Regions from separate parts of the Homo sapiens genome. Here all the other regions are linked to region 4. The links are contacts of gene promoters, found by promoter capture Hi-C in blood cells and fetal thymus (Javierre and others, 2016). All regions are on one chromosome and are shown on one strand. The core of a region is centred on a gene start or on the middle of the fragment in contact, and the rest is flanking DNA. Distances in the headings are between cores, read along the strand shown.

Evidence for each region. The method cuts DNA at HindIII sites, captures the fragments that hold promoters and counts their contacts. A CHiCAGO score of 5 or more calls a contact.
Region 1: a contact is called between a fragment that was not itself captured here and the fragment with the promoter of DST in region 4, in 3 of 17 cell types (erythroblasts, megakaryocytes and endothelial precursors). The highest score is 10.4, in erythroblasts.
Region 2: a fragment that was not itself captured here is called in contact with the fragment with the promoter of DST in region 4 in 2 of 17 cell types (megakaryocytes and erythroblasts); the score reaches 7.8 in megakaryocytes.
Region 3: a contact is called between a fragment that was not itself captured here and the fragment with the promoter of DST in region 4, in 3 of 17 cell types (erythroblasts, megakaryocytes and endothelial precursors). The highest score is 11.5, in erythroblasts.
Region 5: a contact is called between a fragment that was not itself captured here and the fragment with the promoter of DST in region 4, in 2 of 17 cell types (erythroblasts and megakaryocytes). The highest score is 7.7, in erythroblasts.
Region 6: a contact is called between a fragment that was not itself captured here and the fragment with the promoter of DST in region 4, in 2 of 17 cell types (erythroblasts and megakaryocytes). The highest score is 9.1, in erythroblasts.
Region 7: a contact is called between a fragment that was not itself captured here and the fragment with the promoter of DST in region 4, in 1 of 17 cell types (endothelial precursors). The highest score is 6.1, in endothelial precursors.

Annotation. Positions count from the first base shown.
Region 1 is chr6:57,148,110-57,151,430 of GRCh38, forward strand. It overlaps ZNF451 (zinc finger protein 451), which reads left to right. Exons shown (of 15, transcript NM_001031623.3): 10 at 1-584; 11 at 2,610-2,753. The region is part of intron 2 of ZNF451-AS1 (ZNF451 regulatory antisense RNA 1); the gene reads right to left. Among named protein-coding and RNA genes, the nearest start is that of ZNF451-AS1, 22 kb to the right of the region's middle. The HindIII fragment of the contact is 1,290 bases long and covers 1,059-2,348 here.
Region 2 is chr6:57,187,195-57,190,472 of GRCh38, forward strand. BAG2 (BAG cochaperone 2) reads left to right here. Exons shown (of 3, transcript NM_004282.4): 3 at 1-2,639. It overlaps RAB23 (RAB23, member RAS oncogene family), which reads right to left. Exons shown (of 7, transcript NM_016277.5): 7 at 1-3,278. The coding sequence ends at 3,267. Among named protein-coding and RNA genes, the nearest start is that of BAG2, 17 kb to the left of the region's middle. The HindIII fragment of the contact is 2,733 bases long and covers 304-3,036 here.
Region 3 is chr6:57,166,253-57,169,536 of GRCh38, forward strand. ZNF451 (zinc finger protein 451) reads left to right here. Exons shown (of 15, transcript NM_001031623.3): 15 at 2,171-3,284. The coding sequence ends at 2,217. All of the region lies in intron 2 of ZNF451-AS1 (ZNF451 regulatory antisense RNA 1), which reads right to left. Among named protein-coding and RNA genes, the nearest start is that of ZNF451-AS1, 4.3 kb to the right of the region's middle. The HindIII fragment of the contact is 3,078 bases long and covers 247-3,284 here.
Region 4 is chr6:56,953,201-56,956,539 of GRCh38, forward strand. DST (dystonin) reads right to left here and starts at 1,630. Exons shown (of 104, transcript NM_001374736.1): 1 at 1,207-1,630; 2 at 585-619. The coding sequence starts at 1,387. BEND6 (BEN domain containing 6) reads left to right here and starts at 1,907. Exons shown (of 7, transcript NM_152731.3): 1 at 1,907-2,260. RefSeq lists an enhancer at 613-1,244 and a silencer at 1,406-2,095. The HindIII fragment of the contact is 5,182 bases long and covers 1-3,199 here.
Region 5 is chr6:57,203,500-57,206,972 of GRCh38, forward strand. All of the region lies in intron 3 of RAB23 (RAB23, member RAS oncogene family), which reads right to left. Among named protein-coding and RNA genes, the nearest start is that of RAB23, 17 kb to the right of the region's middle. The HindIII fragment of the contact is 3,567 bases long and covers 1-3,473 here.
Region 6 is chr6:57,127,169-57,130,938 of GRCh38, forward strand. ZNF451 (zinc finger protein 451) reads left to right here. Exons shown (of 15, transcript NM_001031623.3): 5 at 1,561-1,672. The region is part of intron 2 of ZNF451-AS1 (ZNF451 regulatory antisense RNA 1); the gene reads right to left. Among named protein-coding and RNA genes, the nearest start is that of ZNF451, 39 kb to the left of the region's middle. The HindIII fragment of the contact is 749 bases long and covers 2,006-2,754 here.
Region 7 is chr6:56,710,079-56,713,439 of GRCh38, forward strand. The region is part of intron 5 of DST (dystonin); the gene reads right to left. Among named protein-coding and RNA genes, the nearest start is that of DST-AS1, 130 kb to the right of the region's middle. The HindIII fragment of the contact is 2,627 bases long and covers 22-2,648 here.

The DNA of each region.
Region 1 (3,321 bases), core at 454-2,953, 190 kb after region 4:
CTTTAATGTGGAAGAAGCATTTCTGAGTCATTATGAGGAGCACCACAGCATAGATTATGTATTTGTGTCAGAAAAAACTGAAACTTCAATTAAAACCGAAGATGATTTTCCAGTAATAGAGACCAGTAACCAGTTAACTTGTGGTTGCCGTGAGAGTTACATCTGTAAAGTCAACAGAAAAGAAGATTATAGCAGATGTCTCCAAATCATGCTGGATAAAGGAAAACTGTGGTTTCGCTGCAGTTTATGTTCGGCAACAGCACAGAATTTAACCGACATGAACACTCATATCCATCAAGTGCACAAAGAAAAGAGTGATGAGGAGGAGCAGCAGTATGTAATCAAGTGTGGCACCTGCACCAAAGCATTTCATGATCCTGAGAGTGCACAGCAGCATTTCCATAGAAAACATTGCTTCTTACAGAAACCCAGTGTGGCTCATTTTGGATCTGAAAAATCAAACCTGTACAAGTTTACTGCTAGTGCCTCACATACAGAGAGAAAACTGAAACAGGCAATAAACTATTCAAAAAGTTTAGACATGGAGAAAGGAGTTGAGAATGACCTAAGCTATCAGAATATAGGTATGGCTTTATAGCTCTATGCAAATTTCATATACTGATATTGAAACTTACAATGTACCCACCTCGATTCAATTTTGAAGCAAGAAACAGGGTAACTTCTTGATGGTATGTTAATTATTATGGTATATACATTTTAGGGGTTTGTATTCCTACTACTACATTTATCCACTTTCTAAACTTACGAGGACAGAGTATATGTTGGCTTTAAATAATATATATTTTAGATATCATTTTATTTTACAAAAGGTGTGGAGATTTTGAAGATGAAGGAAGTTGATAGTTTTTCTGAAAGTTAGATTTCAAAGTTATCCTAGTATTAATATCATTTAGATTTTTCTTGTAATATTTGGGTTAACTAAAAAGATAAATCACGTGAATTCTTTTTGTTTCTATTTGGCCATATTCTTTAGTGTGAGACATTTTAAAGGTCATTTCAGCATTTGTATATTTTTGTTATGATTAACTTGGAAGAAAAGCTTTAACATACAATTAAAATAGCAATTAGAAGTAGAGTTAAAGTGGTAGCAGGAAACCAGGGGGAAAATTGAAATATGAATTCCTTGTTTGTACTTACTCCAGACTTTCTTTCTTCCATATGATAGGATTAAGTAAGTCTAGGCAGGTGTTATGTTTTTATTTTGTTTAGAAGTATAATTTGTTTTGTTTAGAAGTATAATTTGTTTTTGTTTAGAGTATAATTTTAAGTGTATCTTCTTTTATTTGTAAAATTTTTTTGAGATGGGATTTTACTATGTTGCCCAGGCTGGTTTTGAACTCCTGGCCTTAAGCAATCCTCCTGTTTTAGCCTCCCCAAGTGTTGGGATTACAGGTGTGAGCCACCACACCTGACTTAAGTCTATATTCTTTTAAATAAATACTAATTCTTGGTGAGTTATACAATGTAGCATATTTGGGTACAGTGAGAATATGTGAAAATTTTGGCCAGTAATGTATTTTTATGAACTATTGAATTTTTAGAGTCTTGCTCTATACCATATGTAGATTTCAACATCACCTTTAGTCATGGCATGTTTTCAGTGGTAAAGAATTAAATCATGAGCTACCTAGTCAACTCTAAACAGTGAAACACTGGTTACACCATTTTATGTTAGGCCTTTCTTTTGCGCTTCTGTTTACTTTTTTTTTGGAATTTGTGTTAGTCTGTGTTTGATAGAAAATGCAATACCTAAATCTAGAATTACCGAGAAGTTAGAGAAAAGACGTAAGGTGGCTTGGAAATGGAAGGGAATGGCAGTAGTATATTTGAAGGAACTATTAGAATAGAAACTATTCATTTTTTAAATAATATAACATTTTAAAGTTTGCATTGTTACCACAGGAAACTTTAAGGCCTTGTCAAAGTGGAAAAGTATGAAACAAGATAAAGGGGAGGGAGAATGAGAGTTGGGGCATGGGGGAAGGTGAAAGAAGAATCTGAGAGAACCAAGAAGATGTGTTTATAGGGGGAGGTGTCTCTGTACCACTGGCACATATTTCTAGCACTGCTTTATGGCAGCAGGATTCTAGGTTATCTTATTTCTGCTCTCTAGGGTGTTTAATCCTAGAACTAGAGGGCTACTAATAAATCAGTCCAGACTGGGAAAAGAACCAAATTCTGGTGGTGAAAATGTTCTTAATAGGTAACCTTGGAATTTTATATGGGTGGTATTAGTTTTTGCTTATTTAACCTTAAAACTTGGTTTTCTAGTTCTTCTAGTACATTAATTTTTTAAAAAAATTCCTTGTATAAGTGACTTTTTAACAAGCTTTAGAGTTGTTGGAAGAAAATGTTTGCAAGAAGGATATATAACCAAAATTGGTGAAATGTTCAGATTATTTTTATCTGATTTAAGTGTAAATGGTGTCATGTACAGATTTGGATTTCACAAAAAGGTTTAGATAGAAATGAGTAACATTCAAGGTTAGTATTTTTGCATATTAGGCTTCTAATACTTTTTGGACTTGAAATCAGAATGATTTTAGCAAATTCTTACTGAACTCATGTTGATATTTCTCTCTTCTCAGAGGAAGAAATTGTTGAGCTTCCAGATTTGGATTACCTGCGAACCATGACTCATATAGTCTTTGTAGATTTTGATAACTGGTCAAACTTTTTTGGTCATCTACCAGGGCATCTAAACCAAGGAACATTTATTTGGGGCTTTCAAGGTACGGTTAATAAGAAAAACAAAAGAAAACTTTTTCCCACCTCTTAGAATATAGTTCAGTTTAAAAGGCTCCTCTTAAACCTTCCTGGATAGAACATAGGAACATAATTGGAATATTGTTCTTTTGTATTATAGTTACTCTGCTAGAATCGTTTTCTTTACATGCCTCTGTGGTAAATGTTAGCTCTATCTGGTGACTCAAAGTTTATGGATCTTTTGGCCGGGCGCGGTGGCTCACGTCTGTAATCCCAGAACTTTGGAAGGCTGAGGCGGACGGATCACGAGGTCAGAAGATCGAGACCATCCTGGCTAACATGGTGAAACCCCGTCTCTACTAAAAAGAAAAAAAAAATACAAAAAATTAGCTGGGCGTGGTGGCGGGCCCCTGTAGTCCCAGCTCCTTGGGAGGCTGAGGCAGGAGAATGGTGTGAACCCAGGAGGCGAAGCTTGCAGTGAGCTGAGATCGCACCACTGCTCTCCAGCCTGGGCAACAGAGTGAGACTCTGTCTTAAAAAAAAAAAAAAAAAAAAAAAAAAGTTTATGGATCTTTTGATACAGATTGAAAAAGC
Region 2 (3,278 bases), core at 420-2,919, 230 kb after region 4:
TTTTTTGCTTTTAAAAGACCATTTACTAACATCCTACTGTAGATATTTCGAGAGACAGATGAAAATAATAATAATAAAGATTATTATAGCCAAATCATCCAGTTAGCCAGGAGTTTGATGACTGGATATTTCAGAGTCTACTGCGGGTTTTAAATATTTTGTTAGCAAATGAATTCATCTGTATGATGAGAGACTTACATGTTTTATAGCTGAAAACCTAAGGAGTGACAATAGTACATGTGACATTCTTAACAGTTAAAAACTGAGTAAGTCCTGTTCATTAGGTAGGTGCCATGTGGAACAAGCTTTCACCTCATCAATGCATTTTGTTTTCAGAGAAACAGACTAATGATAGATTAATGGGAACATTTTATCAGGTTAGCAGTAACTATTTCAAAGGTTTTGAAAAGTATGCTAATAATTAACAATATCTTATATTAAAAGGGTCCAACACTAAGTTGGGACATTAGGTCCTAAGGCCAACTCCCTATTCTAAGGTCTTCAGAAAAGGTCCAGTTTCCTAAAACTCACAGGTCCAAGGAGTACATGTTATTTATTGAGAGTTCCTTCTGAGCACTGCACTGCCAACTTCTAAAGCAACCACCTAGAACTTCACTCCATAATGAGGAAAAAGTTTTCATCCTCTTTTTGGTAGTTTTAGCTTTATTTTGAAAAAGTAACGTGTGCTATCAACTTTGGGCAGATACAAAGGAAATCATTTAACCTGGTTTTATTTAACTATATTGCCTTATATGGGTCATTCTATATACTATTTAATTCATAGACAGAGACTGGAAAAGGAAAAGGAAACCTGAGGAACTCTGAAATATGGCAGTTATTCCACAGCGATATGTCTACGCAAAAGATTAGCCGTAATGTTAAAAAAGTAGATTAGAGCACAAATGCACAATCACCTGGAATCTTGGAAAAGTTTTTCTTTAGTATACATGGTTTCATAAAATTAAAGTTATTTAAGAGAATGAAGGGTCTTGGAAAAAAAATGTCAATTTTTGAAGGCTTTAAGAATTGATTAAATTGAGAAATTAACATGGCTGACTTTCAGGCCTACTTAATTATTTTAAATGACTAATTATGGTTAGGTTTAAAATACAGCAGTGCAAATTAAAAATTCAAATATGTAACAAAGCTCTCTCTTCAGTTCTTATTTAAAAAAAGATAAAACTAGGTACATAAAATTATATTACAGGAACTGTAACTATCCTCAGAGATTACTTTTTTTAAATATAGAAAGGTAACACGCTTTTAGCCACACAGCTAACATGAAAAAGAACTAACTAGAACACATATAACAAGTGATTTTTCTGCCAATAAAGACAAAAGACTATTTGTTGCAAAGTATTATTTTGTGCAAAAATTAAAGAGGAGAGTAGAGAGTAGAAAATTGAAGAGAGTAGAAAAGATGACTCATTAGCAGTATCCACTGTTTGTTAGGAACTGAATTTTGCCCCCAAAACCTATGTCACTATCAGCAATGGGAGTGGTGACAACTGGTGACATAAAAATAAGCATTTTACATTACTGTGAAATAGATAATGCCAGATCATTTCAATATAATGAAAAGCAAAAATTTACTTTTTAATTTTTTTTATTTTTCCATCTAAAATGGCAAAGAGAACATTTACTTTTGATCACTTAACAAGGACACACCCAGGAAATTTGATTTTCTCAACATTAGGAGGATGAGGGGAGTACAGATGGAAAAACAAAAGATAAAACACAAAAGGAGTACATAAAACATTGTTTAGTACAAATAATGAAAAATGACTTCATGACATTTTCCAATAAAAGTTATTTTTACAGATTTTGCAATGCTGTAAAAACCAGGTATATTGAAAGGGGTTATTTATAGGTTAAAAATAAAGCCATTGATGAGTGATAATCAGTTTTAACAGAGTTCACGCAATTATCTTAGCTGGAAAGCTACTGTCCCAAGTGACAAAATTTATGTCCTGACACATGATTACATATTAAATCATTTTGTAAAAGAAATGATTCTGTATGTGGGACTGACAGCTCTTGAGAAAGTGCTATACAAACAAGGTTATAGAAATGTTGAAGTGATTGATAATCTTAAAATACCATACAAAAATGTGTAAACAAAAGGATGGTTTAGAGTTGCAGGGCATTATAAAATATGTAATTTTAGTTAAGACTAATAATAATATTTTTGTGCACTTTAAAAATGGTTAGTGTAATCTTGTAAGTTCAAAGCTGGGTTCTCAGTGAGCAGCAAAAGGTGTTAGATGCATCACCACACTTCACAGGACCTCCTGAATGACTGCAGATGTGCTGTGTACCTTCTTAAGGGGCTTTGGCTGACCTTATGAGAGCAGGAGCTCACCATGCTTATGGGTGACTATATCAAAAAGATCTGCAATAAGGCTCACCTGGGAGATGCTCTAGCATTCAAATTCCTATACTCCTCTTTTATCTACGCTGTCAGATGAAAACTGCTTACTGCTTTTAAAAGATATAATAAACAATATAAATTCTGATAGTAAAGCACTATAAAAATTAGGTATGATATTTTTGGCACAAAGCACTTTTTAAACCCAAGCTCATTTTGCAAAATATATGTCTAGAGTTTATCATTTGAAAATAAAAACATATACACAATATGTAAATGGTTTTATAAGTGAATTAATTAGAATGTACATTTTCTTAAATACTGCACATACCTTCAGCTTACTCCAGTACCAGACATCTGCATGCACACCCCACATTCTACATTACACAGATATTGCACAAGTTTCAATGCCAAAATACTAATGCAGTCTGGCAAGATTTAGGGTTTACCTTTCAGTATTATTTTGTGAAAGTATTCAGATTCAATACTATTTCGCAGAAAAGCTACATGACCAATTTCAGGAAAAGAATGCTTGCTATCTTTCCTTGATCCACAGTATTAAAATCTGTAACAATATATTTAGGCATTTCATTTATGTTTTCCAGCATTTAAAATTCCGCAAAACCTGTGTTTGAAATTTCTTATAGCATTCCTTTACAAACAGGAGAAGCTTCGTCTAATGTAAAAAAAATTAAAGGAGTCCACAGGGCAATAATTTTTCCACCAGAGGTCTCACTCTACATTCTGAAAAGCACTGCAGAGCAATATTTAAGTCTGTCACTTTCAGAGAGCCATTAGGAGCAAAGTCTGCTGAAAACCTTGTAACATACCATGACAGCTGGATGGGTTTCTTAATGCATTGCACAATGTAATTCAATTGTTTTCCTCCCAAAACATCTTAGGGTATGCT
Region 3 (3,284 bases), core at 536-3,035, 210 kb after region 4:
ACTGACCTCAGGTGATCCGCCCACCTTGGCCTTCCAAAGTACTCGGATTAAGACATGAGCCACTGTGCCTGGCCTATACTACATTTAAAAAAATTTTTTTTTCTTCAGTAATCAGTTCACCTTAGCTTACTGTAACTTGTATAAACTTTAAAATTTTTAACTTTTTGTCTCTATTGTAATAACACTTAAAACACAAACACTTTGTACAGCTATAGAGAAATATTTTCTTTATATCCTTATTCTATAAGCTTTTCCCTACTTTTAAATTGTTTTATTACTTTTAAAACTTTTTTGTTAAAAACTAAGACACAAACACATATATATTAGCTTAGACCTGCACAGAGTCAGGATCATCAATATCACTTTTATAAGTAGCAGTACCCTCTAAAATAATAATAAAAAGTATAGTAAATACATAAACCAGTACCAGAGTTTATTATAATTTTCAAGTGTTATGTACTGTACATAATTGTATGTGCTGTACTTTTATACAACTGGCAACATAGTGTATTTGTTTACAGCAGCATCACCACAAACACATGAGTAATATGTTGCACTGCAACATGAAGATGGCTATGACATAATTAGGCAATAGGAATTTTTCAGGTCTATTATAATCTTATGGGACCACTGTTGTATATGTGATCCACTGTTTACCAAAAGTTGATACGCAGCACATGACCATACTTGCTTTTTGTTTTTTATAGTCTTTCAGCTGGCAAGTTTAATCCCTATAAGCTCACTGGAGGTATGATATCTTTGTATAGATGTTGCTGTACTTAATGATGGTTTGATTTATGATTTTTTTACTTTATAAGGATGTGAAAGCAATATGCATTTAGTATAAACCATACTTCAAATTTTGAATTTTAGTTCAAAGATTTTTATAACTTTAATTGTAAAACAGACGTTGTGATTTCGTATATATATACACACACACACACACACACACATATATACATATAACCTACTATCATTTGTTAAAAAGACCTTTCCCTGTCATTCTGCAGTGCTACCTTTGTTATAAATCCAGTGTCCATATATGCATGGGTCTGTTTCTGAGCTGTCTATGCTGTTCCTTTGGTCTATTTATTCTTGCACTAGTAGCACATTATTAGTTACTGTAACTTTATAATAAGTGTTCATATCTTAGACAAGTCTTGTCCCCTTGTTTTTCTTTGGTAAGAGTGTCTTGGCTTTTCTTTGCATTTCCTCATCCCTTTTAATTCATCTTAAGGGCAACTAACTGATCCTAGAGTGTAGCTTTAACTTGATACACAGTTCATGCTAGTTTATTGTACTTTAAATTAGACAACATAACACTAGTGCCCCCAATCAGAGGAACATGCGGTTGCATCTTAGGGAGATCACTGGTGCCTGTAGCCAAGTAGCCTCTGAGAGACTGTGGACCAGATGGGATGAGATAAATCTGGTGTGAGAAGCTAGTGAAGGCCAAGAAATTGACACCAAATTTCACCCTCCTGGATTTTAGCATCATTCCCAAGGAGGAGATGGAACTCAACTATTGTGAACCCAATAACGTCTGTCTTGTTCACTATTACATTGCTGTTCCTGGTATATAATGGGCATTCAATAAATATTTGTCAAATGAGTTTACATACATCTGCATACAGCATATATTATATGCTTCTCAGATGACATTTATGTGGCTATGAGTTTCACTACCTTAGATGCTAGGATGCTTTAAGCTAATTTTTCCCCAGCTTTATTGAGGTATAATTAAAAATTAAACTAAATTTTTAATGGCCTGTGACATTTTGTCATTTCATGGAGTTGCCTTTCTGTTTAAAGTCTTATATGTATCACCTCAAGTCTTTTAGCAAATAAGTGATACAGATTTTTTTTTAAATGTTGAAACAAATGATTACCTGTCAGTGATTTTAAAAGTTTGTTGACTTTCTACATTCCTAAGTGGAATTAACTTGCAAGTTCTAAGTTCATATATAAAATTCAATTCAAGATCATGTCTAGATTTTCATATTTCAAAATACTCAATTTTTTAGTAGAGAAACTGCCAAGTTATCCTGTGTTTTTCCATTTTGATTTTACTTTCCTTCTTGAAAAGAATACAGTCGATGAAACTTAAATAAATACAGCACATGTTGAGTTTTCTGCCCTAAGTGTTAAAATTCTATGTTTTTTAATGCAGATGTGGAATTAGAAGAAGCTATTAGAAGAAGTCTTGAGGAAATGTAATTAAAGATATTACCACACAACATCAAGTGGCCTTGAAGAGACTGAGATAACGAATTCTTGAGTTTGTTTTCTAAAGGAGACCAGAAATCCACTATTACAAATGTATTTGAAAACATGTTTTTGCTTTCATATGTTCAAAATCTGATCTTTGTTTTGTATTTTTGTGCTAATGTGCAAACATGTACAGAAGAAATAGAATACATGTTCATGCAAATATAAATTATGTATTCTAATATAGGTGTAACAGTTTCCCAGTTAACTTTGAATTTATATATTTAGATTTAAAGGATTAAAAAAAAGGAAAGCTCTTGACAGTTGTTTCCCAAATAGCATTAGTTCTTTAATTTTATTTGTACTGTACAAATGATGCTAGTTTATTTTTTTAGCAGTGAAAATGAATATAAAAAAGGTGACATAGGTCAAGTTTTCCATAAATTCTACTTCTCATGTGGCACTATTATATAATACCTTTGAGATCTTTGTTTATGTTTATTAGAAGAGGGTAATGGAAACTGATCATGGAAACATTTAAAATTTTATCAGCAATGTTCTTTGTGGGTGCCATGCATATGTAAATTATTGCTTTAATTAGAGCAGCACATTGCTAAAATAAAAAATACACCTTAATTTTTAAGAAATAATTTAAATGAAACAATTTCCATTCCTTTTACCTGCTTAGACTTTTATGTGACTTGTATGGTCTCCTGGTTAAAGGGAATGGTGTCAGAATATTTGCATAAAATTATTTTTCATAACAGTCCTTTTTTATATATTGGTGTAAACATAATATTCTTCAAGAAATAATGTTGAAAGCCTACTCAGGAATAATCTTCCTTAACTCTTTAAATTTTTATTTCATGTGAAGTGTTTTCAGTTTAGTTATTCACTGAATTGTCAGTTTCCTTCATTTGGTATTACATATTTAATTCTTAAATATTGAGGCCCCATTGTGAGTAATAAAAAATACGACATAAGTAGAAGACTAAGAAGGGCTTGTCATATTATCTTTGTGTATATGCTTCATGTTATTTAACCAGAAATGTCTTATCTCTAAAAATTTTTAGTAG
Region 4 (3,339 bases), core at 380-2,879:
CCTGGGTGCAGTGATTAGGAGTTACTTGCCCTAGAGGGATGGTCCACGTTTTGAGAGTGGAGACTAGCACAAGCATTTAAGCACACACTACCATCATCGCTTTGCAAAAATCATCAGATGGTCCCCAATAAAACATGGAGAGCTTTAGGAGAAAACAGAAATGTAAACTTGAAAATCGAAAATGAAATGCATATGGATCAAATTGTTCTGCACTAACCTCTTCGTTTATCCAAGTGAACAACCAGAGTCAACTGACAGCACCCAGAAAACACTTCCACCAGCAAAATATAAACTGTAAACTCAAGTGACATCCACCCTGTGGCTAAGTTTTTTAAGGTCTGCAGCACTTTTAGGGTTTGCCTTTTCCCCTCTTGTACAACAGCTCCACTACACAAGAAATTTGCTAAAACCGTTCGCTGGGCACTAATATGAAATCACTTAAAAGGAAACATGCCACTTTCGGCTAGGGGACAGCATGTTCGTCATTCAGTGTCCTACTGGTTTCTTAACACGCATATAATTAATATTGGTACTCAGGAAAGAGAACTTCTTCTGACCTTGAGCGTGCGCGCTAAATAAATTACCTCAGAACGAAAGTGGTGCGATCTCAAAACAGCATCTGGGGAGAAAAGAGATAAATGAGACTTCATTTAACTCCTTGTTCTTCACCTACCGAGTGACTCATGACTTACCTGGGAGACCAGGGTTGGGAAAGCACATCGCAGACTCCTGGAATTCGGTGGGACATCCTGGGGGAGGGAGGAGGAGTCCTGGGGCCATCGGTCTCTACGTGATTTCTCCGCGAGAAGTTTGCATGAAAGTTCTGGGGGAGTTGGGGAGCCCCGAAGTTTCCATGCCTTACTTTCTTACCCCTACGCTCCAGCGAAGGATGCGTGAAGGCGAGGCTGGCGCAGCCCCGGACTACGCTCAAATTACCCTTAAGGCTTTAGCAAACTGACTAAAAATTTGAGTTCTTTCCTCCCCTCCCTGCCCTCGGCATCGCCGTGGTTATTCAAACCTGGGAGACTGGAGGGCGGAGGTGACGGCAAAAAGGGCAAGGGGCGTTAAAGAAACGCACTCAGCCTGGGGAGTGGGCAATGATGGGGCTAGGGGCAGCCGAGGAGAAGGGAGCGAGCCGCGCTTCACTCTCCAAATCGGCTTAATTGTTCCTGGTAGCCCGCAGAAACCCGTCGCGGCGTGTCTTACCTCGGCTTCTTGAACGACCCGAGAAGACCGATTTCATCGGATGCCTCCCTTTCTGGAGCTTGCGGTGCCAGCAGCAGAAGAAGACGATGGTGGCGATGGTGCCCAGCAGAAGCAACAAGAGGAAGAGGGCACATTGGATGCTGTAGGGTCTCAGCAAGACGAGGAAAGCCGCGGCGATCATGGTGCGGGCGAGGCGAGGGCGACTCGACGGCGGGGCTGGAGGGCGGCGGCACAGGCACCCGCGCTGGGCGCACGCCGGGACGGCGGGCACGGGTGAGCGCGGCTCAGCGCGTCATGCCTGGCGCTCGCGGCCCCGCGCCCAGCCCAATGGCTGCGCACCCCGCGCCAGCCGCGCTACGCGAGTGATCCAGGGCTGCGGGGAGCGCTTGCCATGACTCAGCAGACAGCGACGAGGCTGCGACTCGGCGGCTGGGATCCTCTCCCCTCCCTCCCCAGGCGCCCCCGCCCCCGTCCGTGCGCAGCCCCCGGGCGCAGCCCCGCCGGGGACGCGGCGAGTGGGGAGGAGCAGCGCCGCCGCCGCGGCCGCCCGGGCCCCGCGCATCGTCCTGCGGCCGCCGCCGACCTCAGCATCCCAGAAGCCGGGCGCACGTGGGTCGGGGCGGGGACGCGGCGCTCAGGCTGCAGCCGCGGCAGCCTGCGGGGGGCGGGAATGGGGCGCCGCGGCGGGGGCTCGGCTGATGACATCACGGCCAGGCTGCGGCAGCGCGGGCGCGCGGACATGGCTGCGGCGGTTTCGGCGGCGTCCGCGGGCTGCACCCGGGCCTGAGAGCCCAGCGCCCTCCCGCGGGGCCGCCCGCCAGTCCGCGCCGTCCGCGGGTGCATTGGCCGGGTGCCTCTAGCTTCCCGGACACCCGGAGCTTCCGCCTATCCAGCCTCCCTCGGCCAAATTGCTGCGGAGCCCGTCGTCAGGGGGCGCCAAGGAGCCAGGGGGAAAACCGAGAGGCGCTGACAGGAGCCTCCCGGCGGTGCTACCCTCCACCTCCCACCTCCCTGCGCCCCGCCCCGAGGTTGGGGCTTTGAAGAATGCAGCCGGGTGAGCTATTGCTTGTGGGGGTTTCCTCGCACTCTGAAGCGCGAGCGCCGGGAAGGGCCTTCCCTGGGAATTGGGATACTCCAGGAACGGGAGGCCCACTCCTCTCCAAGCCTCTCTAAACTAGGAGCGCTCCGGGGTAGTACGCTCTGGTCGGCAGAGGTGAACTCTTCCACCCCAAACTTGGTGCTTATCTCGCAGCTAAGAATTGGGCACTTTCGATCTTCTTGTATCCCTGGGTTTGCCCTAAAACCCTGACTCATTTAGTGCATTTGAAGGGCAAGGCGATTTCAGATTTAGGGACCTGGCAGATGAAGTAAGTTGGTACTTGGCTTATAAACATTTGGGGGAGAAATTTTTTAGGGAGTGTGAGGCAATAGTGATCTCTCACACTTGCAGGCACACTCTGTCTCCCCTTTGTCCCCTCCCCACGTTTCTTCATAACCAGCAAAAAGTATATGGCAGTTGGTGGCCAGGGGATTTAACACTGATGCAATGCCAGCACGGAAGGTATAGCGAGAGCGCTGCAGTGTGCCTTTCTGCGGACGGCCACGGCCACCTGGCCAGGAAGCGGCTGCTGCAGCAGTCATTCTGCGGCATCTTGCGGCCTTGGCGGGCGGTGCTGTGCCGCGTTCTGCTGCCCCCAAGGCAATGCTGGCTTTCCCTGTGTGGGGCTGGATTGTTTGTTTCATTTACTCGCATAAGAAAACTTTAATTATAGTGACAAGGTAACACTTGACTGCATTTGCGGAGTTTCTTATAACAACTGTATTAGCCTCTTTTTTGGAATATTTAATAGACTGAAGAAATTGTGTCATAAAAATTTATAAAAATTTGAAAAGCAGGTAAATAATTGGGAGGAATAAAAGTTTTATTTGCTTGTAGTGATCTCAAAATCAGTGTTGTTTTCCAACTATACAAAACCGTACAGCTCTGCATGAAAGCTTAATCATTGATGTCCTTAAAGCCAGTAACATATTACCGTGTGTAAGTATTAAACCTAAAAAGGCATTGGTTAATGCAGTCTCTTAGTGCCAGATTCATAAGCATGGAAAACAACAGATACGTTTTGTTTACAGCTG
Region 5 (3,473 bases), core at 440-2,939, 250 kb after region 4:
AAATAAAATAATGAAAATCTCAAGTAATCCTACTTCTTTCTGGTGTTTCCACATAGGTTTTATGTTTATTTTTTTCCTGAGTGTGTGGGGAAGGTAGTGGTAATAACCCCATTAAAAAATACAAATAACTTTTACTCAAGAATAAAACTGTACATTTAGGACCTGTTAATCAATACTGTCAAGGCTGATGAAATTCATAATTTGATACAAATATCATCTACTTGAATGACAGAGGGGTAGAAAAAAAATACCATCTACTCCAAGAACGGCTTGGGGTAGTAAAAACATAATTCTCAACCTTAGACCATGATACAGGTGCTCAGGATCCAAACTGGTAGCCACAGAGAATAACCAAAGCTACTGTGGACGGGAAGCCTTAAAGTACACAGTAAATAGAGTGGTAAGTAGTGGTGGCAAGAAACCAAAATATGTTTTAGAGCAGGCAGTGGAAGTCAAGTTTCCTTGGTACCAATTTAGAAAGGCAACTTCTTTGGTCATTTGTATGTTAGTACAATCATGAAACCTTAGTTGTCATTATTACAATAAATCCTACATTTTCAAAAGCGAAAAAAATAAGCTATATATTCAAAAGTTACATGAATTCACCCAATTTCTCAAGTATATCGATTTTATATAACTGGTGTAAGTTTGTAAATAAGCAAGCTACTTCAATAAAATCAGTGGTAAATCCTGTCTAAAAGAAGAAATTATGTGTTTATATGATACTGTACCTAAAAGTTCATTAACACTGTCACTTGGAACTTTCATATATATAGATTTCTTCAAGAGACACATACTGGTATACTGCTATTCAATATATCTATTCTATTTTCAAGTACTGCTTCTCTGATAATCCAGGACACACAAACATAGGTTCCCTTTCAAATTGGGTAAAGTGACACATTAAAGAAGACTTCCATGAAGAAGTCAGAAGAATTTCCATTGTATACATAACTATTATTTCAGTTTCATTAAACCTGTATCTTTCAATACAGGATGTTTAAAGAGACTTTGAAAAAATAATTCATAACTGCTTCCATATCATCTGTTGTTTGGGACTGTTTAGTATTCAACTACTAGCATTCTACATACTAAGATAGAATATATTTTAATTTTTATGATACCAAAGAGTAGATTTAAAAGCAGAAAACAAAAGATTTAAGAAGTAAAAAAGATAATTAGCTTAAAGGAAACTTTTCAGATATATTTCTAAGCAATGTTATTACATGAATATAAATACAAGTTAAGACAAAGAAGCCAGGGCAAGGTTTACTATGCCTATTATATCCCTAGAACAACAGAGACACTTAATACACATTTTCTGAATAAAACTTCAAATCTAGAGAAACAGTCATGGGGGCAACTATAAACAAGGTAGATCCTACTTTCCTGGGGCTTCTAGTTCAGAGAGCAAATACCTTTAAGTGAAATCATTTATATTTATAAATATAGATATATGTGTATATACACATACACATACATATGTGTACATATGTACAGACATGTTTACATAGATACATACATATATGTATATGTGTATATATACATCTGTTTATAAATATGTGTATATATACATATACATATATTTGCATTTATAAATATATATACACTGTGTGTATATATACACATCTATACATATATACTTTATATACACACATATATACACACTATATTAATTACATATATACATATTACATACATACACATATATTAAGTGTGTGTATATATGTGTGTGTGTATGTATGTGTGTGTGTATATATATATAAAAATAAAATTTCATCCATTACTTAAGGTCAGAGTATAAAGTTATAGCATCTGATAAGTAAAATGAGACTGTGTGATGAACGAGCAGAATTTCACTTTATAAAAAAATTAACCAAAATGATACTGTCTCCTAAGGTCAACTGAATTCACTTGAGCCAACAGGTGCTACGCAATGGGGCTGGGGAGACAAAGACAAAAAACCCTGCCACTCCATAAGCCAGAAGCTAAAGTAACTCATAATCTCTTAGGGAAAATAAATATGCAAATGCTACATAGAGTGATAAATGCAATAAACATACTGAATTAGCTAAAAAAAATTATTAACTGTTCAGGGATGAGGGCCACAGAAAGTTTCACAGAGACTTCTGAGATGTTAAACCTGAAGGCAAAAGGTCAAGAGAGACAAGAAAGCATTCCAGGCATAGTGTAAAAAGAAAAGAAAAAAATGGGGGATTTCTCAAGGGTGAAGTACAAGTGAGGAATCAGCAGATGATGCTGGACAGACGAGGGGAAACACAGTTGTAAAGTCCTGTGTATATGATGCTGAAGAGTTTTAACCACGAAAGTGATTTGGTAGTGGGAAGGATAAAATGGTTTTCACTGACTATTTTCTCAAAGAAGAGTGAAGCAAAGAAATCAGCAGAGTGGAGAGGAGGAAGGGATTCCCAAAGTTAAGGCAAGAGAAAACACAAAAGAGCTCTTTTGGAAAATGACAGAGACTTGAGTAAAAAACACTGAGAGTGCCTGGCAGCACTATGTACTCATTAAGGTTATGTGATGTTAGCTTCAAAGTTCAGTCTGAATGGTTGTCTGATATTCTCTATATGGTTCAGGTGCTCGGATGCAGATTGGTAGATAGTCGGGTTTAACTGGGTTGGGCATTTTGCTGAGCAAGTATTATGCAGAGAGCGCAGGTCTGGGAGTTAAAGGTCCTTGCAAGCAAATGCTTACAGGACTAGAAAAACTAAGCTGAAGAAGGAAAGAAGTAAAGCCATGTGGAAGGTCATATTTAAAAAGTGGTAGGGTCAATGAACAGAGAAGCTCTCGATGGTTTCAAGACAGCGTCTGGATATTAAAGTTAGCAAGCCACAAGCCACCAGTAGTGGTCAGGGAGTAGGAGACTATAGAGGTTTAGATTTTGGGGTAATGAAACAATTGTTGGCCTTGAAAACAACAAGGAAATGAGCAACAGGCTGAATTTTCAAAAAGTAATCCAAACAATTATGGAGAAGAAACTGAGTCAGATGCCACTGTTATCAGAAAGGAGGCATAAAGGAAGTTGATGGACCAGAGCAAGCAGGGGGATTAGTGGTGGGTAAAAGTCTCATGACCTGGACTTTCAAGGTGCCGAGGTTTTGGAAGGAGAAAAGAGGAGGAATGGTGTGGAAGCAGCAGTGAGAAACAAGACAACCTCTGCCGAACAGCCTTTAAGTCTTGAGGAATGTGAGTATGCAGGGATATGGGTAAAAAGCCTCCCTTAGAGAAGGCAGCAGAGGAAGTTGTGTCTTTAGAAAACAAGTTTTAATTACAACACGGTGAAAAGTTCAGAAAAGAGGGACATCATAGAAGGGATAATCAGTATATCAGTTGTGCCTTTTTATTTCCCACAGCATCTGCGAAATGCAGAGTATTAAATACCTGTCAATATGAATGATCAATTAATATTTACTTGGCATCAACAGGCTATAATGCCACATGGTATTCCACCA
Region 6 (3,770 bases), core at 1,130-3,629, 170 kb after region 4:
TAGGATACACTTTGAAAAAGTATTTGGTGATTTATGAAGTTGGGATACTGCATACTCTATGTATGAAAAATAGGGGTGCACATTAGCACTTTAGGGCTTTAGTAGTCCTACATGAAAGTAACGTTTTAAATTTTGTGTTAAAACCAGTGTTTCTATACTTAATTTGATTACAGAGAATTTTAAAAAATGTATATAATGCATATTAACATTCATGAGAAGTAGTATTCTATGGCTGTAATTTGAACAATGTTATGTAGATTTTCTTCAGATTAAAATCTTGATCCACTTTTTCGCCTCATTTATCCTTCCTGATAGAAAACCCTGTTACATTGATAACTAGGCCATACATTATTATGGTTTATATCTTACAAATCCAGTGTTTCTGACTCTGATCCCTTTTGAAGTACATGTAAATCTTTTTGAGAGGCAGTATGATTATACTCGTTAGGGCATGAATTCTAGAATCAGATTGCCAGAGTTTGAATTCTGACATTATTATATATCCTTGGGCAATTTATTTGACCTCTGTGTACCTCAGGTTTTTCATCATAAAAGGGGAACAATAATACCTAAAATCTAAAGTCTTTTTAAAACTGCCTCACACATGGTTAGTGGCCAAAAAGTATTAATTTTAATACACATGATTGGAAAATACACAAATAGTTTTATGGATAATATAACTAGAAAGATTTAGGCTTTTAGCAATACAGAGCATCTAGTTCAGCATTGTCATTGGCCTGCTGCCTGCTATAAACAAAGATTTATTGGAACACTGCTACACTCACTTGTTTACATATTGTCTGTGGCTGCTCTCCTGCTACAATGGCACAGTTGAGTAGTGGCAGTAAAGAGTCTATGGCCTGCAAAGCCATAATGAAATATTAACTAGCCTTTGTGGAAAAGTTTGTTACCCCTTGGTCTAGATGGCAACAAATGCTTTACACTGGCACATATTAAGTGCTAATGAGTTATGTTATTAATATTACTCAGTGAACAAATACTTACTAGGCTCCTTCTGTATGTTTCAGATTAAATATGGAAAATTTGAAACAATACATAAAACTTTAAAAATGAAAATAATCCTTTACATAGAAATTCCTAGAGGTAGCCTTAATAACTTTTAATACATCTATTTTCAGGCTTTTTTTTCCTCTGCAGATACAGTTGCACATGGATTTGAAATTATTCTTTGTTTATATTTTGCCTCATTTGTTTAATACAGTTTGGCGACCTACTTGATATCCAAAGTATATTTCCACACCTTTGAAAAATTTGGTTAATGTTTTTAATGACGTCCATCAAATGTACATACCATAATTTACTTAAACCATACCCTGTTGTTAGGGGTGTAGGTTGTAGTAAATTTTGTGCAATAACACTGGTATACACATCTTAGAGCGTGCATTTTTATTTTGATGTATTTCTTTGTCATACATTTCTAGATGTGGAGTTCTGGGGATAAAAAGTAATCAGTATTTTCTGATCACTAATGTGTCAAAATCCTTTTCTCAAGGAAAACAGGGTAGTAATCTTAATTGAGTTTTTTCTTAATGTCTTCAGGAAAAAATTGATTTTCAGCATGCTCATGGGTTACAAGAATTGGAATTTATTCGAGGACATTCTGATACAGAAGCAGCAAGACTGTGTGTGGACCAGTGGCTAAAAATGCCAGGTATTCTTTAGAAATTACACTAAGGTTACCTAGCTTCCCCAAAGCCTTAAGGCAGAAAGTACGTCTGTTTTATGCTATTGCTAATAAGCATATAAGATATTAAATTTTGTTTCAGTGATACTAATATCACCTCATAATGGCCTACTTTATAATGGCCTGCTTTGCCCATTGTCTTTCTTCTTTGGCACAAGTATATTTGAGTATAAGCAATATAGGTCGTACCTGAGCTCATTAGATATTACTCATTTATTCATTTATATATTTAATAGTTATTGCATGAAGTAGCACATATGTCCATGGGAGGTGTGTAACAGATTATTTGAGGTCAGAAAAAGCTTCTCTAAGGAAATGGAATTTAAACTGAGATCTAGAGGATTCATGTTTATTTATTTATTCATCAGTGCAGCCTATGTAGATATTTAATAAGGAAGCATCCTCATAGACTTGTCAAAACATTGGGTAGCTTCTTCGTTACTAACTCTTTGCAGATCTGAGATTCCTTGAAGAGTTGCTGTGGAACATGTCTTACTCCACCGGATAATTTGGTGGAATTTTTAAGAGCCAGTAGGAGAGTCCCACCATGACAACTTTCCTGTCTTGTCTTGAAGAATATCTACTGAGCCTTTAAAGAGTTAGGATATCCACAGAAACTGTAGCTGTGGATTTAATCCAACAAAGTTTAATTACAAAAGTTCATGGAAATATCTATGCATGCAATGCTTAACTTTGTTGAACCTAGGTATCTTGGATTCTAAAGTTAGTTTTCAAGGGCTTTGCTTTGAATGGAATCAAATTGCCACTTATAAAAGAATTCTAATAATTTACATGTATTGGTATTTAGCAGTTCATTCCATTTGATACCTGACATAATCGATGTTTTAGACACTTGGCACCCCCTGAAACTATATTTTCTCCTTATCAACCTGCCTGTGCCTCGCAAACTCCCCTCCTGCCCCCAAAAACCTTTTTTCTTTGTTTTCTTCTTACTTGCCTGTGGGGTTTATACGTGGCCAACAAATAATACAGTATTAGGGATTGCTGAGTGAATATGGTTATTGTATATCATGTCCAATTATGTGAGAAGCTTATCTAGATTTATTCTATATAAGTTTGGTTGCTCAGCCATCTGTGATCTCAATACTTTATTCATTTCACTAATACAGTATTTATTATGTTCGATTGATCCGTTTATATGTCTGTCTCTTCCACCCAGCTATGTGCTTCTTGGGCACAAAGACCAAATCTTACTAATACTTTTTAGCGTCAGTTCCTTAAAAGAATGCTCAACATAGAGATACTCAATAAATGTTGGTTGAATTTTTATAGAGGTAGGCTATAAATATTTGCATAATGAACACAGAAAGGAAGCCTAGAACTTGGGCTCCAAATCTGACTGTTATTAAACAAAAAAATTATATGGCACTCCAGATCTACTTTGGCAAAAGACACATAGAAAATATGGTAAATGGTTTTGCCTCTTGGGGTGTTTTTTGAAAGCTTTTAGTTTTAAAAATCCCTCTTCATGTACATTCTTCTCAGTGGAAGAAGTTAATGACTAGCTCAGTGGTGTCATCTTTGCTGCGTCAGAATATTCTGGGACCTTTTAAACAGATGCCTACACCTTATTATCTCCAGAGATTCTTCTAGGGCATCTGTACTTTTGGGAAAGATCCCTAGGTGGATAGGAAAATGGACTAGAACTAGAAGACTTTATCATCTCTAGATCTCTTCTAAAAATTATCTCATGAGTCTGACACTTTCAAGTCCTATACAGAATGGTAGTCGGGCCAGTAATATGCCCTTCAAGCTTAATATCTGGCCTCCAGGTTGTCAGAATATTATAATGCATTGTAAAATGAATCTTGAGCATCTGTTTATGTATTTCCCTGAGCAGGTCAAGTGGGATCAAATGAGTTATTTAGCTGTGTCTTTATGGTACTTTCAAGATTAGTGTTTTCTCTGCCTTTCAGTACTGGCTTTTTGATGGCTGATAAGCTTAAGCCTGGAGTTAAGGTCTGTAGTTATGATCTTTTTTGTGTGATGGGCTCAGCTTTTTGCTTGGTCTCTGAGGCAATGTAAAAATAAAGTTTGGAATCTA
Region 7 (3,361 bases), core at 85-2,584, 240 kb before region 4:
AATATCTCTGACCAATATAAAAGCTTCCCTGTAAACTATTATCTTAAGCAAAAACAAATCAATCACAGGTAAAATCAAGAGCCCAATCTGTACACAATAATAGAGGAAAGGTCCCTCAGGAAAAAAAGGAAACTGGAAGAGTCATTCCATTAATGAACCTTGGGTAAAATGCAGGCATCCTAGTGAGCTCTGCAGTAGGGAGCAAAACATCAGCCACATAAAGGGTTCACAGTCCGCTCTTAAAGAAGTTCTATATCTAAAGGATACAGTATTCTGGAAAACAATCAGCTATCTTTAGAAAGAAACATAAATAATAAAAGAAGGCTTGTCCCAAATGAGATCGCCTCACTGGCTTATACTAACTGGGTGACGAGAAGAAGGATAGTTTGCTTTAGTGAAAATTATAAATTAAAATATTTTTCAATGCAATTTTTTTACATCAAACAAGTACGTTCATAAAAAATTAGCTGTCAGGTTCTCCTGGGAGAGTTCCTTAGACAGCCTACTTGAAAAAATAGAGGTAACATAAATATCAATATATTAACATATTAATTATTGATAAGAAAATTAATGCTTTTAAAATACACACAAAAAATGCTCAAAAACATTGTATTATCTTAGGTAGCTGCCTTATCTAAAGTTGTTTTTTCATTACAAATTTATTTCAGTACTACTTCTTCAGGAGTTGTGAAAGAATAAAACTACAATTCATATTCTACCTAAATTATTATAAATTCGAAATTGGTGCAGTTAAGTCAAACAGGGAAATATCCTTATTTGGCATGATAAAAAGGCGGTTATGGTTTTTTAAGGTACTACGTTAAGTCAACATTAAGGCCACATAGAATTCATCTCCTTTAGGTTATTTTTAAACTATGAAATAAAGGTATTAGTTACACATCTTAAGGTATTAATGGATAAAATAATAGAGAGTTTTTTTTTTAATCCACATTGGTACTAGGTGGTACAAATAATGTGTCTACTTCTTTGGACCTGATTCACTCCTTCACAAAGAAGGCTTCTCTTTTTAGCTTTTGGGTAGACAATCTATAATCAATTAAAATGCAAAAACTGAATGGCCTTTCCTAGTCTTTCACCACAAGGTGGAACTAGGTAGTTAAATAAAATAAAAACATTTATTAATATATTACAGATAAACACTTTAAGATTTGGGGTATTTTAGTCACTGTTTCACCTAGGTATTTTTTATTCTCTTCTATACAGTTTCGCCATGGTTGCAGTAACCTTTTTAAAAGGCTATTTCAATTTTTAAATATTTTTAAATAGGTAACTTTTCTGTAACAGTCTGAGGTTAGGGTTGGTTGGTTCTGGTTTGGTTTGAGTTTAGGTCTCTATCTTTCCTATCTTCCCTTTTATTATCAAGAAAACAGATAAAAAATCTATTTTTGCTCACATTTTCCCCTGAACCTGTAGATTTTTCATCTCTTGCATAGCTGTACAGATCTTGGTGTGGGGTAATTATAATGTAATGTAACTGAAAGGGAGAAATAAATTCAGAAATCAATATACTCTGCATAGTATATCTTTTTTGGTATCTGTCCAGTTCCTTGGACAGATTATTAAAGATGTATTCTTGACAAACTCCACACTACAATGTCTAACAAACGAGCGTCGGCTTGTAAAGGCATCAGCATTACCCATTCCACATATGAGAGAGAGAAGAACAGCTAATAAATATTATTGTGCAATCTTTTAAAAATAGGAGGAGGTGGCCGGGCGCGGTGGCTCACGCCTGTAATCCCAGCACTTTGGGAGGCCGAGGCGGGCGGATCACGAGGTCAGGAGATCGAGACCATCCCGGCTAAAACGGTGAAACCCCGTCTCTACTAAAAATACAAAAAATTAGCCGGGCGTAGTGGCGGGCGCCTGTAGTCCCAGCTACTCGGGAGGCTGAGGCAGGAGAATGGCGTGAACCCGGGAGGCGGAGCTTGCAGTGAGCCGAGATCCCGCCACTGCACTCCAGCCTGGGCGACAGAGCGAGACTCCGTCTCAAAAAAAAAAAAAAAATAGGAGGAGGTATTTTAGATAAGACTAAGGATGCTTCTTTCCAGTATTCTGTCTGTTTGGCAGGAGAATATGGGCATTACCTTTTACAGGTTTTTCAAATATCCTCCTAGCTCATTACTTATATAAATCTTTCTTTAAACTCTTTTTCACCTTAAAAAAATCATGGTAAGTACTACTATGTCAAGAGCAATTTTTAACACCAGCATAAGGAAAAGAGGAGAAACCAATCCATATCCTTACTATGCTCACCTTTTTCCTACTCCTCCTACTTTCTCATAATTTGGGCAAAAGAAAGAAAAAGCTGGGAAAGCAAGGGTCATTATCACTTAACGTGTCTAAGGAGAAAACCTAATCAAGGAAACAAAATTTTGATGGAAATAAGTGAAAATGTGTGGTTGTAATATAAAGACAAATAATGACAACGAAGTAGAATGCTATTATAATACTAATAGCTAATTAGACATAGTTCATCTGTGTGCCATGACTTAAAAAATATAACTAGGTGTAACAAAGTCTGCTTGACACAGGTAGTCTATAATGACACCATTACAGTCTTATTCTTTACCACCACTGTTTTAAAGAGATTCCACTATATTTTTAAATTCCAGCTTTTACTGAAAAGCTTTTAAAACAGAATTGTAAATACTTTAAAATAAAAATCATGCAAAGGTTATTTTAAATAATTTTAAATTAGTTTTATTTAAATTTATATCATGATCAAAATTCACACTAGTTCAAAAAATGTGTATTTCCTCATCAAATCCTCCCAGCTAATGACTCTCTTGTAACGTTATACCAAATTCATAAATCAGATTCAAATTGATCATTATAAATTTAGAGATGTATTCAAGTAAAAGCATTCTGTCTTTGAAACAACAACAAAAAAAGAGAGCTCCTGGGACAGATACAGCAACCTCTCAAGTCATGTGCTTCTAACACAAGGTCACTTTACCAGACTGACTTTCTCTTTATACCTACCTATCATTGGTTTTAAAGAAATCTTAATCATGGTTGGTGATAAGATGGAATAACATGTAGGGGAGTAGCACTGCAGTGCAGGGCATGGTATGATTCCAGGTAAAAGGCAGTCTGAAGACCCTGGGCAGCTGGTGAGTGGGAAGAGAAGCATCAGAAAAGGAATATAAGGATGTGACAAATAAAAATTTCAACTACTTTGCAATTCTGATTAAAGTGCTGGTTGTGGCAACTACCCTGAATACTTCTGAGCTGAATCATCTCTTTTGGGGCTTTTGTCAAATGAGCTATAGGTTGTCAATGCCTGACCTATAATCTCAACACACACACACACACAATCAAAGAACTACCTGAACCT